Regions from separate parts of the Homo sapiens genome. Here region 2 is linked to region 1. The links are contacts of gene promoters, found by promoter capture Hi-C in blood cells and fetal thymus (Javierre and others, 2016). All regions are on one chromosome and are shown on one strand. Each heading gives the region's core, a stretch centred on a gene start or on the middle of the fragment in contact. The rest is flanking DNA. Distances are from core to core; before and after follow the strand shown.

Region 1 (7,682 bases), core at 2,116-4,615:
CAGCCCCCCACCAACATTCCCCCAAAATGCAGCCTAGGAGGCCGCAGTGCTCTTCTTCCTGCCCAGACCAAAATGTTCCTTTTAGTCCTCAATGTTTTATATTCTTTTTGTTTTGAAAATCTCAATTTTAATCAGGGGTTTTAAAAGAAAATTGAAAGCCTGAACCTCCATTTTTCTTCTTGGCTCCAGTTTTGCTGGTCCTCTGGAGAACTCTTCGTGAGCACTGGTGCCGTGACCCACTTGGGATCTCTGCTGTGCCCTTCTCGGGCTTCCAGACCAGGTGTAGCAAATGAAAAAGTGCAGTTAATTCAAGAACAGGAATCCCTGTGTCCTTGCTGGGATTTCCTTTTGGGAACCTGACTTTCCGACTCCAGATCCTGCTGTCTGGATCAGTGTTCTGGCTGGAGGTGCTGGATTCTCTGATTTTGCCTCCTCACTCTGTGTCTGGCTTTGCTCCTGGGTCTTGGCCCTGGGCCATATGAGGGGCCAGGAAATGAACGACAAGGAGGATAAGAGTGTTCTTTCTTGAAAGCCGGGACTTCCCCTCAAGAACCTGGGCCTGGGGCCGGGACTCTGCATGACTGGGAGCAAGTCACTTAAACCTCCTGTGCCTCGATTTCCCCCTTCTACAAAGTGGGGCCAATGATTCTTGTGTGTCAGCACTGTTACTACCGAGTGCTGAGTAAGGGCAAAATAATACCCCTTTCTCTATGTATCTCTGTATGCACACGCACTATATATATATATATATATATATATACATTCATGTAATCACCACTTCTCGATGTCTATTTCAAATCAAGGCTCCTGAGTAGGGGGTGAAGTGAGCCAGCTTGCACCTCAGGCTAACACATAGGACTTTGCTCAGCCATGTCCCCTGGGATACAGGGGCACACCAGGACCAAGTGGCAGACCTGTGGGCTTCAGCCTCGGGGCCGGGGCATGCCTGCCACCCCCTGACAAAAACAGGTTCCACAGTGCTACCCTTGCTTCCTGCCCCTTGAGGTGGGCCAGGCTGGCTCCTGGCTATGCAGGGATCTCTGGTCCCCAGGAGACCTTGGGGGCCAGGCAGGTAAGGATCAGGGGTGATAGGGGAGAGCAATTACTTTGTTCACTGTATGCACCCGCGGGGGCCTGGGAGTCCCCATTTGCAGGTGGGTAGGGCCTCCAGCCCACACCACCCAGACCTAGGCTTCCCTCTTCTCAGGATCCACCACAGGGTTAGGGGACAGGAAGCCTGTTCTATTCTCAATAAATCTTACAAAATTCCAAAAAGACTTTCCTGTGTCCCTCTGTCCCCCTGGGGGGAAGGGACAATGGAGGAATATTCCCCAGGCCTGGGCGACTGTCCGCTGGTCAGAGGGAAGGCCCCGCTGCCTGCCCGGTGCACCTGTGAGCTGAGATTGTGGGGATCATTCAGTCATTCCTTTATTCAGTAGATCTGTACGGGGCTGGCTTTGTGCCAAGGCCTGCCCCGGGCACCTGGGATGTGGGGAACCAGGCATAGCAATCCCTGCTCTGGGACAGTCTACAAACGAGCAGCGAGAACAAAGACATACTCTGGTCATGACAGACACTACCCCGCACATTACTGATGGGGCAGTGTGGGCCTGCTGGGTTAGAGACGGCCTACTCCCTGATCTGTGCATGAAGGGCTGGGAAGAGGAGATGGGCCTTCGGGGCACAGGAAGGTGTGGGGGGACCAGAGCGGAGGCTGCTGAGGGCAGATGCAGGCATCTAGGGCCAGGAAGCTGGTGTGGTGGTGGGGAGAAGCAGGGTTGGGATGACTGAAAGCAGAGTGGACGACTCAATGAAAAACGACTTGGGAGACGGGGTGAGTGCAGTGTGAGGGCAAAGTGAACCGAGATGCCTCGCTTTCTTCATGGGACTGAGAAATGGGTATTGCAAATCGTGTGATCTGCTTAGCATAGTGCCTGGTTCATAGCATGGCTGAACACAATGTAGCTGTCATCCTGGTGTTTGGAGGCCGCCCTGTCCCCCATAACCTGCCCACCTCTCTGCCCCATTCCCACAGCTCACTGCATTTTGTCCCTGCTGCCAGTCGTGTGCCATGGGCTCTCCTGTGCTCCCCCGGGGTCTCATTTCCCCATCCGTGTAGGGCTGACGCCACTGGCCCCGCCCAGCCTGGGAGGATGGAGAGGGGGGACTTGAGGAGTGGCCAGTACTGGGTTTCGGCAGCAGGTGCAAATCCCAGGTGGGGACTGTGTTCCAGGGACTCCTGGACTCCTGTTAGGCCAGCAGGCTAAGGGGCAGACGGCATCCTGGGGTCTTCCTGGGACAGGGTCGTCGGGTCTGAGGGGACCCAGGCCCTAGCAGAAGCTGACTCCTGTCACGGTCACTTCCCAGCGGTGCTCAGCCCGCCTGACGGAAGCAGCTGGGCAGTGGGGCCTGTGACCAGCAGGCGGCGCTGGCGAGCTATAGCGCCCCTTTGGGCCCCCACCCCACCTTCTGGGCAGCTTCCCTGCAGACACCCCAGTTATGGGGGCTAGGGACCCAAAAGAGACATCCTTCTGCCACCCAGAGCTGCCCTGGCGAGGTGCACTATGGGGCCGCCGACAGCTGCGTGGCTGCCGAGGGCGGAAAGGAGAAACTGTCATGTCCCGATAGGGCCGCGCGAGGTCTCCATCCTCGACAACGCTAATAACAAAGACGTGTGCTCCTCTTTGCTTGGTTCCCCCCACTCCTTTAAATCACAGATTTCACTTCAGTTTATCTGTGTCGCTGTCACACGTGGGGTGGCTCCCAGTCAGCTGGTTTGGCAAAGTTTCTGGATGATTACGGAATAACATGTGTCCCCAACCCGCAGAGCAGGTTGTGGGGGCAATGTTGCATTGACCAGCGTCAGAGAACACACATCAGAGGCAAGGGTGGGTGTGCAGGAGGGAGAAGGCGCAGAAGGCAGGGCTTTAGCTCAGCACTCTCCCTCCTGCCATGCTCTGCCTGACCGTTCCCTCTCTGAGTCCCAAACAGCCAGGTAGAGGAGGAAGAAATGGGGCTGAGACCCCAGCACATCAGTGATTAAGTCAGGATCAGGTGCGGTTTCCTGCTCAGGTGCTGAGACAGCAGGCGGTGTCCTGCAAACAACAGGAGGCACCTGAAGCTAGCCTGGGGGGCCCACGCCCAGGTGCGGTGCATTCAGCAGCACAGCCAGAGACAGACCCCAATGACCCCGCCTCCCTGTCGGCAGCCAGTGCTCTGCACAGAGCCCTGAGCAGCCTCTGGACATTAGTCCCAGCCCCAGCACGGCCCGTCCCCCACGCTGATGTCACCGCACCCAGACCTTGGAGGCCCCCTCCGGCTCCGCCTCCTGGGAGAAGGCTCTGGAGTGAGGAGGGGAGGGCAGCAGTGCTGGCTGGACAGCTGCTCTGGGCAGGAGAGAGAGGGAGAGACAAGAGACACACACAGAGAGACGGCGAGGAAGGGAAAGACCCAGAGGGACGCCTAGAACGAGACTTGGAGCCAGACAGAGGAAGAGGGGACGTGTGTTTGCAGACTGGCTGGGCCCGTGACCCAGCTTCCTGAGTCCTCCGTGCAGGTGGCAGCTGTACCAGGCTGGCAGGTCACTGAGAGTGGGCAGCTGGGCCCCAGGTAAGGATGGGCTGCCCACTGTCCTGGGCATTGGGAGGGGTTTGGATGTGGAGGAGTCATGGACTTGAGCTACCTCTAGAGCCTCTGCCCCACAGCCACTTGCTCCTGGGACTGGGCTTCCTGCCACCCTTGAGGGCTCAGCCACCACAGCCACTGAATGAAACTGTCCCGAGCCTGGGAAGATGGATGTGTGTCCCCTGGAGGAGGGAAGAGCCAAGGAGCATGTTGTCCATCGAATCTTCTCTGAGCTGGGGCTGGGGTTAGTGGCATCCTGGGGCCAGGGGAATAGACATGCTGTGGTGGCAGAGAGAAGAGTCCGTTCTCTCTGTCTCCTTTGCTTTCTCTCTGACACTCTTTATCTCCGTTTTTGGATAAGTCACTTCCTTCCTCTATGCCCCAAATATCCCATCTGTGAAATGGGAGTATGAAGCCCCAACAGCCAGGGTTGTAGTGGGGAAGAGGTAAAATCAGGTATAGACATAGAAATACAAATACAGTCTATGCCCCCTGTTGTCAGTTGGAAAAGAAATTAACTTGAAGGTGGTCTAGTTCTCATTTTTAGAAATGAAATGTCTGTCTGGTCATTTTAAAATGTGGCCCTTAAATTTCACGCCCTCACCACTCTCCCCCATCCCTTGGAGCCCCATGTCTCTAGTGAAAGCACTGGCTCTGCCCCCAGCCCTCATGGCTCATGCTGGCATAGGGCGCCTGCTCCACAGCCTGGGCACCATCTTCAGACAAGTGCCCGGTGGCAACTGCCTGCTGGCCCTGTTGAATCCACATCTCCACCAGGCATCCAGACTAGTTCAGGTCTCTGGAAGGACTGTGGGTTTGCTGTGTCCCAGAGCTCCAGGGCAGGGGTCAGGGCTCGGATGTCGGGCAGTGTCATGGGCAGAGGATCGAATGCCCCGGCGGCTCTGAATGGGCCCTTGTGAAAAATTGATGCGCATTCTAGGAGACAGGTTGGGAGCCAGAGGGGCCTCATACCAGGGTCTGTAGGCTGGGGCTGCCTTTTAAGCTCCTTCCTGAGGCCGTCTCTGGGTCTGGCCCTGTGCTGGACAAGGCTGGAGACAAGGCAATGTCTCAGACCCTCTCCCATTGGCCACATCCTGCCCTGGATCAACTCGCCAACTTTGGGGGCAGAGGTGGGACTGACCCTTACCCTGACAACATAATGCATATAGTCAAAATGGGATAAAGGGGAATATAGAGGCTCTTGGCAGCTTGGGAGTGGTCAGGGAAGGCTTCCTGGAGGAGGTATCATCTGAACTGAGCCATGAACCATAAGTGGAAATTCACTAGTCAAAATTTCAGGTAGAAGGGCCAGTGTGTGAAGGCCAGGAGATGGCAAGAGCTGGCGTATTTCAGGAACAGTGAGTCACTGAGGATGTCCAAGTATAAGGGTAGGAAAGGGAGTGAGCAGTGAGAGAAAAGACCGAGGCATCAGCAGGGGCCAGATTGTGCTGGGCCTAGCGGGGCGGGCCCGGGCCCGGGCCCAGGCCCAGGTGCGGTGCATTCAGCAGCACAGCCAGAGACAGACCCCAATGACCCTGCCTCCCCGTCAGCAGCCAGTGCTCTGCACAGAGCCATCCTGAGGGCAGTGGGTGCTCTTGAGAGGTTTCAGGCAGGGTGTGCTGTGAGCAGGTCATGCCCAGCCCTTGACCTTCTGCTCAGTCAGGCTTGTCCTTGTCACCCACATTCCTGGGGCAGTCCCTAAGCTGAGTGCCGGAGATTAAGTCCTAGTCCTAAATTTGCTCTGGCTAGCTGTGTGACCCTGGGCAAGTCTTGGTCCCTCTCTGGGCCCCTTTGCCGTAGGTCCCTGGTGGGGCCAGACTTGCTACTTTCTAGGAGCCCTTTGGGAATCTCTGAATGACAGTGGCTGAGAGAAGAATTCAGCTGCTCTGGGCAGTGGTGCTGGTGACAGTGGCTGAGGCTCAGGTCACACAGGCTGGGCAGTGGTCAGAGGGAGAGAAGCCAAGGAGGGTTCCCTTGAGGGAGGAGGAGCTGGGGCTTTGGGAGGAGCCCAGGTGACCCCAGCCAGGCTCAAGGCTTCCAGGGCTGGCCTGCCCAGAAGCATGACATGGTCTCTCTCCCTGCAGAACTGTGCCTGGCCCAGTGGGCAGCAGGAGCTCCTGACTTGGGACCATGGTGATTCTTCAGCAGGTCAGTGTTCCCACCTCTTTGGGTGGCCTGTCCTCCCCAGGCCATATCCCCTCATCCATATGCTTACCCGTGGGACACCCTCCCCAGGGTGTTCTCTTGGAAAATTCCTGCCTAGGCTTCCAAACCCAGCCCTCCAGGCTGAGGCCTAGTCTGAAACCTGTTCCCTCTGCTGTGCCAGCTGGGGTTTCCTTCTCTCACTGGCTCACCCCACTGGGCAGAAATGAGTTTATTTACACACATCTCTGGATCCCAGGCAGTGGAACAGCATGTGCAAAGGCCCAGGTGTGGGAAGGTCCCTGGGGAAGAGGAGAGGAGGTTGGCAAGGCTCCCAAAGCCAGGCCAGGAAGGGCCCTGAGCCCAACTTATTCTTAGGGCCTTGGGGAGCAGTGACTGGAGGGCGGGGGGTGACAAGGCTTGAGCTGGAGCCCCCTGGGATTTTATGGGAAGAAGCAGAGGTGCTGGCCCGAGCTGAGTCCTCCAGCCCCCCTTCCTACTGAGGGCCACAGTGGCCTCTGACCCTCAGCCCTTCCCCGTGATCAGTCTGAGGCTCTAATGAGCTCCTGGCCTCCAGAGCAGGAGCCAGGAATGTGGGCCCTGAGCCAGGTGGGCCTGGCAGCAGGCCGTAGGGCTTGTGGGGCTGTGCATTATGGGGGCTTGGCCAGCAGCTTCTCGGTCTCCAGGGTCACCAGAGGCCAATGGCTCAGCCTTGCCTGGCCACCCTGAGGCTGCACGGACCAGCATGTTTGCATATGAGTGCGTGCGCGTGTGTGTGTCTGTGTGTGTGAGTGAGAGGCAGGCTTCAGGGCAGCATCAGGACAGACATTCTTCTATCCCAGGGGCTGGAGGAGACCCCCTTTAGAGCCCCTTGGCCTGAGAGCCTGTTCAAACGCCCATTAGAGATGGGCAGGATCTAGGAGAGGAAAAGTCCATTCGCTGAGTGTTTGCTGTGTGCCAGGGCCTGGGCCCCCATAGCCCTCCAGGGGCGTCCTCCCTCAGGGGGCCTCTGAGGCAGGCCTCTGGCTGATGGGACCTCCTCACCACCCCCTCCTCTCCTGCCCCTCTGAACGCTGACCCACCTCCAGCTGTGGGTGGCCTCTGTTGGGAGCAAGTGTCTTGTAGGTGAATGCCTGTTCTGCCTGCCCTCAAGCAGGAAGTACACTCAGCTCCTTCCTTGGTCCTGAAGAAAGCCCCAGCCCTGGGGAACCGGCCAGCTCTGCAGTTGCACAGGCCGGGCCTAATGGGCTCCAGCCCAGGCTTTGCTATTGATGAGTGGGAGGGCCTTGGGCACGTTACTCAGCCTTCCTGAGCCTCAGTTTCCTCATATGTAAAATGAAGATTAAAAGCCTCTTTTCCCACAGCTGCCGATGAGAGGCTAAAATGCCATGTGGAGCTCCATGAAAATGCTTCTTCCTTCCTCTGCTTCCCTGGTCTGCCCTCTCCTCCTCTCTTCCTGCCACATCCTTCCCGGTCCTGAAAGGTCCACGGAGTGCTTGGCTTCCCCTCTTGCCTGGCTGACTTCTGCTCAGGCTTCAGTGTAGCCTCTACTTCCTTCGGGAGGCTTCCCTGCTCTGCAAACCCCAGGGCCTGGTCCACAGTCCTCCTCCTTTCTCTGCCTACCTGGGGCTTCCTGATGAGCCCTGGACATGAGGGACAGCCTTCATCCCATTTCCCGTGGATCTTTCAGGATAGGGAAGGAACTGGCAGGAAGAGAGGAGGAGAGAGGCAGTCCAGGGAAGCAGATGAAGGAAGAAGCATTTTCATGGAGTCCCAAATGGCATTTTAGCTTCACAATGGCAGCTGTGGGAAAACAGGGGTTTTGTTTGTTTGTTTGTTTGTTTGTGTGTGTGTTTGTTTTGAGACAGAGTCTTGCTTTGTCACCAGGCTGAAGTGCTATGGCATGATTTTGGCTC
Region 2 (7,357 bases), core at 2,988-5,487, 460 kb after region 1:
CCAGCCTGGGCAACACAGTGAGACTCTGTCTCAAAAAAAGAAAAAAAAAAAGACACTTAACCTGAAACTAGTATCTAGGAAACATTAGGCAAACCCAAATTCAAGGAGATTTTACAAAATAACTGATCTGTAACCTCAAAATTGTCCAGGTGATGAAAGTCAAGGAAGAGCTGAGGAACTTTTCTAGATTGAAGGAAACTCATGAGACATGACACTAAATGCAATGTGCAATTCTGAATTGGATCCTTTTGCTAAGAAGTACAATGTTGCGACAACTGGCAAAACTTGAATGGGATCTGAGGAGTAGATGGTAGTAACAATGTTAATTTCCTGATTTTGATAGTCTTATTATGGCTATGTAGGACACAGATGTTTAAGAAAATACACCCTAAAATGTTCTGAGTAATTGGGCATAATATTAACAATTAATTTTCAAATGGTTCAGGAAAAAAAAATTTTGTACTATACTTGCAACTTTTCTGAAAGCCTGAGATTATTTCAAAATAAAATACTTTTAAAATGCAATTACTTAAATTCTTCCCATGTTTCTTCCCACGTAAACGTCAAGCCAAAGGACATGGCTTCAGAAGCTCTTTTTTTTTTTTTTTGAGATGGAGTCTCACCATGTTGCCCAGGCTGGAGTTTAGTGGTATAATCTTGGCTCGCTGCAACCTCCACCTCCCGGGTTCAAGCTATTCTCTTGCCTCAGCCTCCTGAGTAGCTGGGACTACAGGCATGTGCCAACACGCCTGGCTAATTTTTGTATTTTTAGTAGAGACAGGGTTTCACCATGTTGGCCAGGCTGGTCTCAAACTCCTGACCTCAGGTGATCCACCCACCTCGGCCTCCCAAAGTGCTGGGATTACAGGCGTGAGCCACCGCGCCTGGTGCAGAAGCTCTTAAATGCTTTATCTCCTCGCAGATGTTAACGAAATGCAATTCTGAATTTTGGCAGGGGTTTTTTTTTTTCTTCATTTCGCTTTGTCTTGTCTGAAGCTTCAGGGCAAAATCCATGATTATTGAACTATCGTCTATTTTACCTCCATTTTTATATATTAAACCTTATTAAGCACTACTATGTGCTGGGCCATGTACTAAATCTTTTTCAGGCATTATTTCTTTTAACCTTGATCTCTTGCTACTTCCCCCTTCATACTCCAGCCTAGAGCACGGGGACTCCTCTAGGCTTTCTCTGTTTGCAAAATGCAGTGCCTCTGCCTCTCTTCTTTCTCCCTCTTCTCTTTACCCCTTAACTCCTATTTATTCTTCAGGTTTCAGCTAGGATGACACTTCCTCCAAGGAGCCTTTCCTTAAGTCTGAGTGGGGGCCCCTCCCTGTGCCCAGGCCTTTCTTCTTTTACCATTGTACTTTTACACTATATTTTAATTTTGTTTTCTCTTCTGTTCCCTCTTCTATGCTATTCAAGAGCAAGGACTGTTTTTACTGCTGTTTTACCAAAGCTAACAGAGGTCTTCGTCCATGATGTCACTCTCAAGAGACTTTAATTGGTGATTTCTTGTTTCTGAAAATAGGAAGGTTGATTTGATGCAAAATATCCAATCAGTAGTAATTAATTATGTTAATTTTGCCCTTGTTCTTTAATTTAAAAAATGTCCAAAGTCCTTTTAATGACAATATGTATTACCACGATACTAAAATTTCTTACCAAAGTCCAAAACACTGGTTTTCTACATGACTCTTCCGGGTAAAAGTGAATTATCAGCAGAGCAGTAAATAAAATACATTCACATTAATCCTCAAGTGACTTCAAGTCTAGGGGAGCACTGAAAGGGTTACATTCATAGGATTGATTTAAAGGCAACTTCTTTAAACAGCAGTGACTTAAAAGTAATTCTAATTGCCGGGCGCGGTGGCTCACGCCTGTAATCCCAGCACTTTGGGAGGCCGAGGCGGGCAGATCACAAGGTCAGGAGATCAAGATCATCCTGGCTAACACAGTGAAACGCCATCTCTGCTAAAAAATACAAAAAAAAAAAAAAAAAAAAAAAAAAAAAAAAAAAAAAAGCCAGGTGTGGTGGCAGGCGCCTGTAGTCCCAGCTACTCGGGAGGCTGAGGCAGGAGAATGGCGTGAACCCGGGAGCAGAAGTTGCAGTGAGCTGAGATCACGCCATTACACTCCAGTCTGGGAGACAGAGCGAGACTCTGTCTTAAAAAAATAATAATAATAAATAATTCTAATTTAAATTCTTTCTGGCCAGGCAATCAACACAGGAAAGAGAAAAGGTCTTGATTTTCTACTAGTTTGTGTCTTGTGAAAGAATTTTTTTTTTTTTTAGACGAAGTCTCACTCTGTTGCTCAAACTGGAGTGCAGTGGCACTGTCTTGGCTCACTGCAACCTCCACCTCCCGGGTTCAAGGGATTCTCTTGCCTCAGCCTCCCGAGTAGCTGGGACTACATGTGCGCACCACCATGCCCAGCTAATTTTTGTATTTCTAGTAGAGACGGGGTTTCACTATGTTGGCCAGGCTGGTCTTGAACTCCTGACCTCGTTATCCGCCTGCCTCGGACTCCCAAAGTGCTGCACCTACAATGGGCCACCCCAGGGGACAAGCTGTTGGGACTGGAATGCGGTGGCAAGAGCCGTGCACTCTGGCTGCTGAAACCTGCTGTTTCCACTGTAAGCTACCACTTAGTGAATATTTTCTACGTATTGGGAACTGTACTAAGTGGCTTTCATGTTTTGTTTTTTGTTTGTTTGACTGGTTTGTTGTTGTTGTTGTTGTTGTTGTTGTTGTTTTTGAGACGGAGTTTCGCTCTTGTTGCCCAGGCTGGAGTACAATGGCGCGATCTAGGCTCACCACAACCTCTGCCTCCCGGGTTCAAGCGATTCTCCTGCATCATCCTCCCGAGTAGCTGGGATGACAGGCATGCGCCACCATGCCCGGCTAATTTTGTATTTTTAGTAGAGACGGGGGTTTCTCATGTTGGTCAGGCTAGTCTCGAACTCCCGACCTCCGGTGATCCGCCCGCCTCGGCCTCCCAAAGTGCTGGGATTATAGGCGTGAGCCACCGCGCCCAGCCGCGCCCGGTTTTTGTTGTTGTTTTTGTTTCTAAAAACAGCGTCTCGCTCTGTGGCCCAGGCAGGGGTGCAGTGGCGCGATCTCAGCTCACTGCAGCCTGGAACTCCTGGGGTCAAGCGGTCTTCCCACCTAAGCCTCTCCGTGCTGGGACTCCGGACGCGCTCCACCTCACGCAGCCGTATTCCTGCTTTCAAAGCAGATGGAAGAGGTGCGCCAGGACCCCCAGTTCTTGGAAACAGACCTCTCCAGTTACCTGTTGTTTCCTCTTCACGAAGAGTGCATGTAACAGTAAGACACAACTGTTTCATATTATACGTAAAGAGTTCATGCCAAAGGTTATAGACAGTCACATGCTAAAACTAGGCTACACTTTGAAGAATCACCGCTCAAGTTCTGGAAAAAAGAGGTGACTGTTGAACAACACTGTGAGGGTAATCGATGCCACTGAAATATACACTTAAATTGATTAAAGTGGCGAATTTTATCTGGCATATATTACCACCATTTTTAGAAATGTTTTTTGGCAGGTGAAGAAAAGCAAGGCTCCAGGAGGCCCTGCGCACCGGTCTACGCCCACTAACTCACCCGCCCCCTGCGCCGCGTCTCCCCTCTCAATTTCAGTCGCCCATTGATAAAAACGAGGTGGCTATGTGAGATGGCCTTCAGCGGTCTTTCCAGCTCCACGGTTTTACAGTGTGGAGCGGGGAAAGAAAAACTCTAAGGTCCTCGCTGCAAAGCAACCATCAGAGCTCCGCCGCGCCGTGCCGCTCCTCTCCGCCCCGTGGTCCGGGTGTCACCGCCCGCAGGGGCGCAAGGGCCGCAGCACGCGTGCGCAGTGGGCACCAAGAGCGCTGCGTCGACCGCGCCGCGCCGGCCCTCCGCCGCCGCGCCCGCCTACAAGGCCCTGAGGGAGACTGCGGAGGGTGAGTGCGCGGTGGGCTCGGCTGACCGTTGGCCCTGCGGCCGGCGCCCTAGGCTACCTCCCTTCGCCTCCCCGCGCCTCCCCGCGCCTCCCCGCCTCCCCGCCTCCCCGCCTCCTCGGCTCTGGTTCCAACACCCCAGCGCCAAGCCGGGGAGGCGGGGAGGACTTCTTAAGTGTGCCGCTCGGGAGCCTCCCGCTCGTCCCGCCCCGAGGGGCGTGAGGAGGGGAGGGGCTGCGGACTTCGGACTCGGGCCTGGAGACCGCCTCCTACCCAGAGCCGGAGCCCGCAACCCGCTCAGGCGGCGACGGAGCCATGTCGCCGCTGCTGGGGCTCCGGTCCGAGCTGCAGGACACCTGCACCTCGCTGGGACTGATGCTGTCGGTGGTGCTGCTCATGGGGCTGGCCCGCGTAGTCGCCCGGCAGCAGCTGCACAGGCCGGTGGCCCACGCCTTCGTCCTGGAGTTTCTAGCCACCTTCCAGCTCTGCTGCTGCACCCACGAGCTGCAACTGCTGAGCGAACAGCACCCCGCGCACCCCACCTGGACGCTGACGCTCGTCTACTTCTTCTCGCTTGTGCATGGCCTGACTCTGGTGGGCACGTCCAGCAACCCGTGCGGCGTGATGATGCAGATGATGCTGGGGGGCATGTCCCCCGAGACGGGTGCGGTGAGGCTATTGGCTCAGCTGGTTAGTGCCCTGTGCAGCAGGTACTGCACAAGCGCCTTGTGGAGCTTGGGTCTGACCCAGTATCACGTCAGCGAGAGGAGCTTCGCTTGCAAGAATCCCATCCGAGTCGACTTGCTCAAAGCGGTCATCACAGAGGCCGTCTGCTCCTTTCTCTTCCACAGCGCTCTGCTGCACTTCCAGGAAGTCCGAACCAAGCTTCGTATCCACCTGCTGGCTGCACTCATCACCTTTTTGGTCTATGCAGGTTTGTCATTCTCACCAAATACTTGGCACTTCCAGAGCCTCTATGACATGAGGCTGTAAGTTCTTTACTAAAATACATTTGAAACCGTCTATCCCGCTATGATGTAAATGCTGGTATCCCCGTTATTCTAACCATTTTGCAGCCCGTTCTTAACCAGTAGGGCCGACACGTAGAGCCTTCATGCAGTGCTGCTTTGAACACCCAGAGAAAGGAGCCACCTCTGTGCTGAAACTGAGATACTGTGAGATATTGCCAAGGGTTCAGATATCCTACAAAGGGATTGTTTTAATGGTAGAAAGGAAAGATAACTTATTAACTGCCTCTTTCTTCATGCCAAGGTGGTATAGATCGTTTCGGATACTCTTACTGAAAAATGATCCTGGCTTTACAAAGTTCCTTTCGATTTAAAGCACAAGGCACATGATTGGTTAGTATAAGAGCGGAGGGTAGAAATTTTGTAGTTCCATTTTAGTCCTATAAATGATTTAAAGTCATTTCTTATTTCCTTAATAATTCATTTTGAGTTATGAAATTTCTTATTTCCTTAATAATTCATTTTGAGTTATACATGAACTTTTAAGTGACCTATTAAGAAAAATGTTTAAATGATAACTTGCTTCAAATTAAAGATGCTTTTTAAAATATAACTCTTGAGAAATCTGTTGATTTCTTTTAAACCATTTGTTTACTTTGACAGATCTCAGATGCAGTGGGCAATCTAGTCCTAAGTGGGAGGAGGAAATCCAAAACACAAGTATTTAATGATGAAATGTGTCATTTTAAATGATTACAACAGAATATCTTTATTGGGACTACATCTAAATTATAAAAGACTGTGGAGGCAGAAATAACAACAAAGGAAATTTGTGGTAATAATCTTCTGCCCATTAAAAGTGAAACAATGACTAGAAGCAAACTTCAAGATAAGGACTCCTAAACACGTACTTGACCTTCTAGGGTAAAAATGAAAGCCTTCAGCCGGGCGCGGTGGCTCACGCCTGTAATCCCAGCACTTTGGGAGACCGAGGTGGGTGGATCACCTGAGGTCAGGAGTTTGAGACCAGCCTCGCCAACATGGTGAAACCCCGTCTCTACTAAAAATACAAAAAAAATTTAGCCAGGCATGGTGGTGGGCGCCTGTAATCTCAGCTACTCGGGAATCTGAGGCGGGAGAATTGCTGGAACCCGGGAGGCGGAGGTTGCAGTGAGCTGAGATCGCGCCATTTTACTCCAGCCCAGGCGACAACAGTGAGACTCTGTCTCAAAAAAAAGAAAGAAAGCAAGCCTTCCCAATCAATTTCCCCTTCTTTAGGTCTAGTACCACTTTTTAAGTAGACATAAATGGAAATAAGTGGTATAGAAGAGTGAAGGGGGCCGGGCACGGTGGCTCACACCTGTCATCCCAACACTTTGGGAGGCCAAGGCAGGTGGATCGCTTGAGCCCAGGCGTTCGAGACTAGCCTGGGCAACATAAGAGAAATCCCATCTCTCCAAAAAATACAAAAATTAGCCGGGCGTGCTGGTGCGCACTTGTAGTCCCAACTACTTGGGAGGCTAAGGTGGGAGGATCACCCAAGTCCAGGAGGTTGAGATTGTGGTGAGCTGTGATAGTGCCACTGCACTCCAGCCTGGGTTATAGAGACCCTGTCTGTCTCAAAAGAAAAAAAAAAAGAAAAAGAGAAAAAGAGTGACAAGTACAGGCATATTTGAGGGATTGGTGGGTAGTTGCTTATTTATTGAAGTTTTAGATTTTAGCTAAAGCAGAAACATCCCCTGTATATGAACAGAATTGTCACTGCAAAAAGAGTTATGCTATGGTTTAGCTCTTTATTTCTACAATTAAAAGCAGTAAAAACTTAAAAAAGAATTTTTACATCAATAGAACATTAACTACAGTTGGATTTTTCAATACCTATGTTCCTCTTCCCTCTCTTGATTAACCTGAAGTTGATATTCTTTCTGTCTACTTTTAATACATATTTATGATTCCATAGATAATACTGTATATATTAGCCATTCCCTATTTTATCAGTGACAAAAAATTTGAGAGAAGAGACACAGATAATACTTGGAGTTATAGATCCAGTCATAGATATAAGGAAAGTTATTAGAAGTATCTATAAAATATCAACAGATCAAAAACACTGCCCTTTTTTTCTTGAAATGAGGGTACTAATTGATGGGGGAGAGGGAGAGTATAAAGGGAACACTAGAGCAGTGTTTCTCTCTGTATTAAAATCACCTGGGGAGCTCTTTAAACGTCCTTGTTCTGGGCCCACAGATTAAAATCCAATTGCTCTGGCAAGGGGCCTAGGCAGCGGTGTATTGTAAAGCTTCACAGGTGATCCCATTATGAAACCAAGGTAAAGAAGCACTGCTTTAGGAGTCTAGACCTGCACTGTGCAATTCAGTAGCCACTAGCTGCATGTGGCTGTTTACACTTAAATTAACTGAAATTAGA

Evidence for each region. Contacts are between HindIII fragments. The CHiCAGO score rates a contact against its expected background, and 5 or more counts as called.
Region 2: a contact is called between the fragment with the promoter of AQP11 here and the fragment with the promoter of MYO7A in region 1, in 3 of 17 cell types (erythroblasts, endothelial precursors and neutrophils). The highest score is 5.3, in erythroblasts.

The regions. Positions count from the first base shown.
Region 1 is chr11:77,124,881-77,132,562 of GRCh38, forward strand. MYO7A (myosin VIIA) reads left to right here and starts at 3,366. Exons shown (of 49, transcript NM_000260.4): 1 at 3,366-3,609; 2 at 5,709-5,772. The coding sequence starts at 5,755. It overlaps CAPN5 (calpain 5), which reads left to right. Exons shown (of 13, transcript NM_004055.5): 13 at 1-1,275. RefSeq lists enhancers at 2,052-2,774, 2,775-3,498, 4,221-4,944, 6,390-7,111. The HindIII fragment of the contact is 18,517 bases long and covers 1-7,682 here.
Region 2 is chr11:77,585,716-77,593,072 of GRCh38, forward strand. AQP11 (aquaporin 11) reads left to right here and starts at 4,238. Exons shown (of 3, transcript NM_173039.3): 1 at 4,238-4,896. The coding sequence starts at 4,278. RefSeq lists a silencer at 3,585-4,214. The HindIII fragment of the contact is 3,851 bases long and covers 995-4,845 here.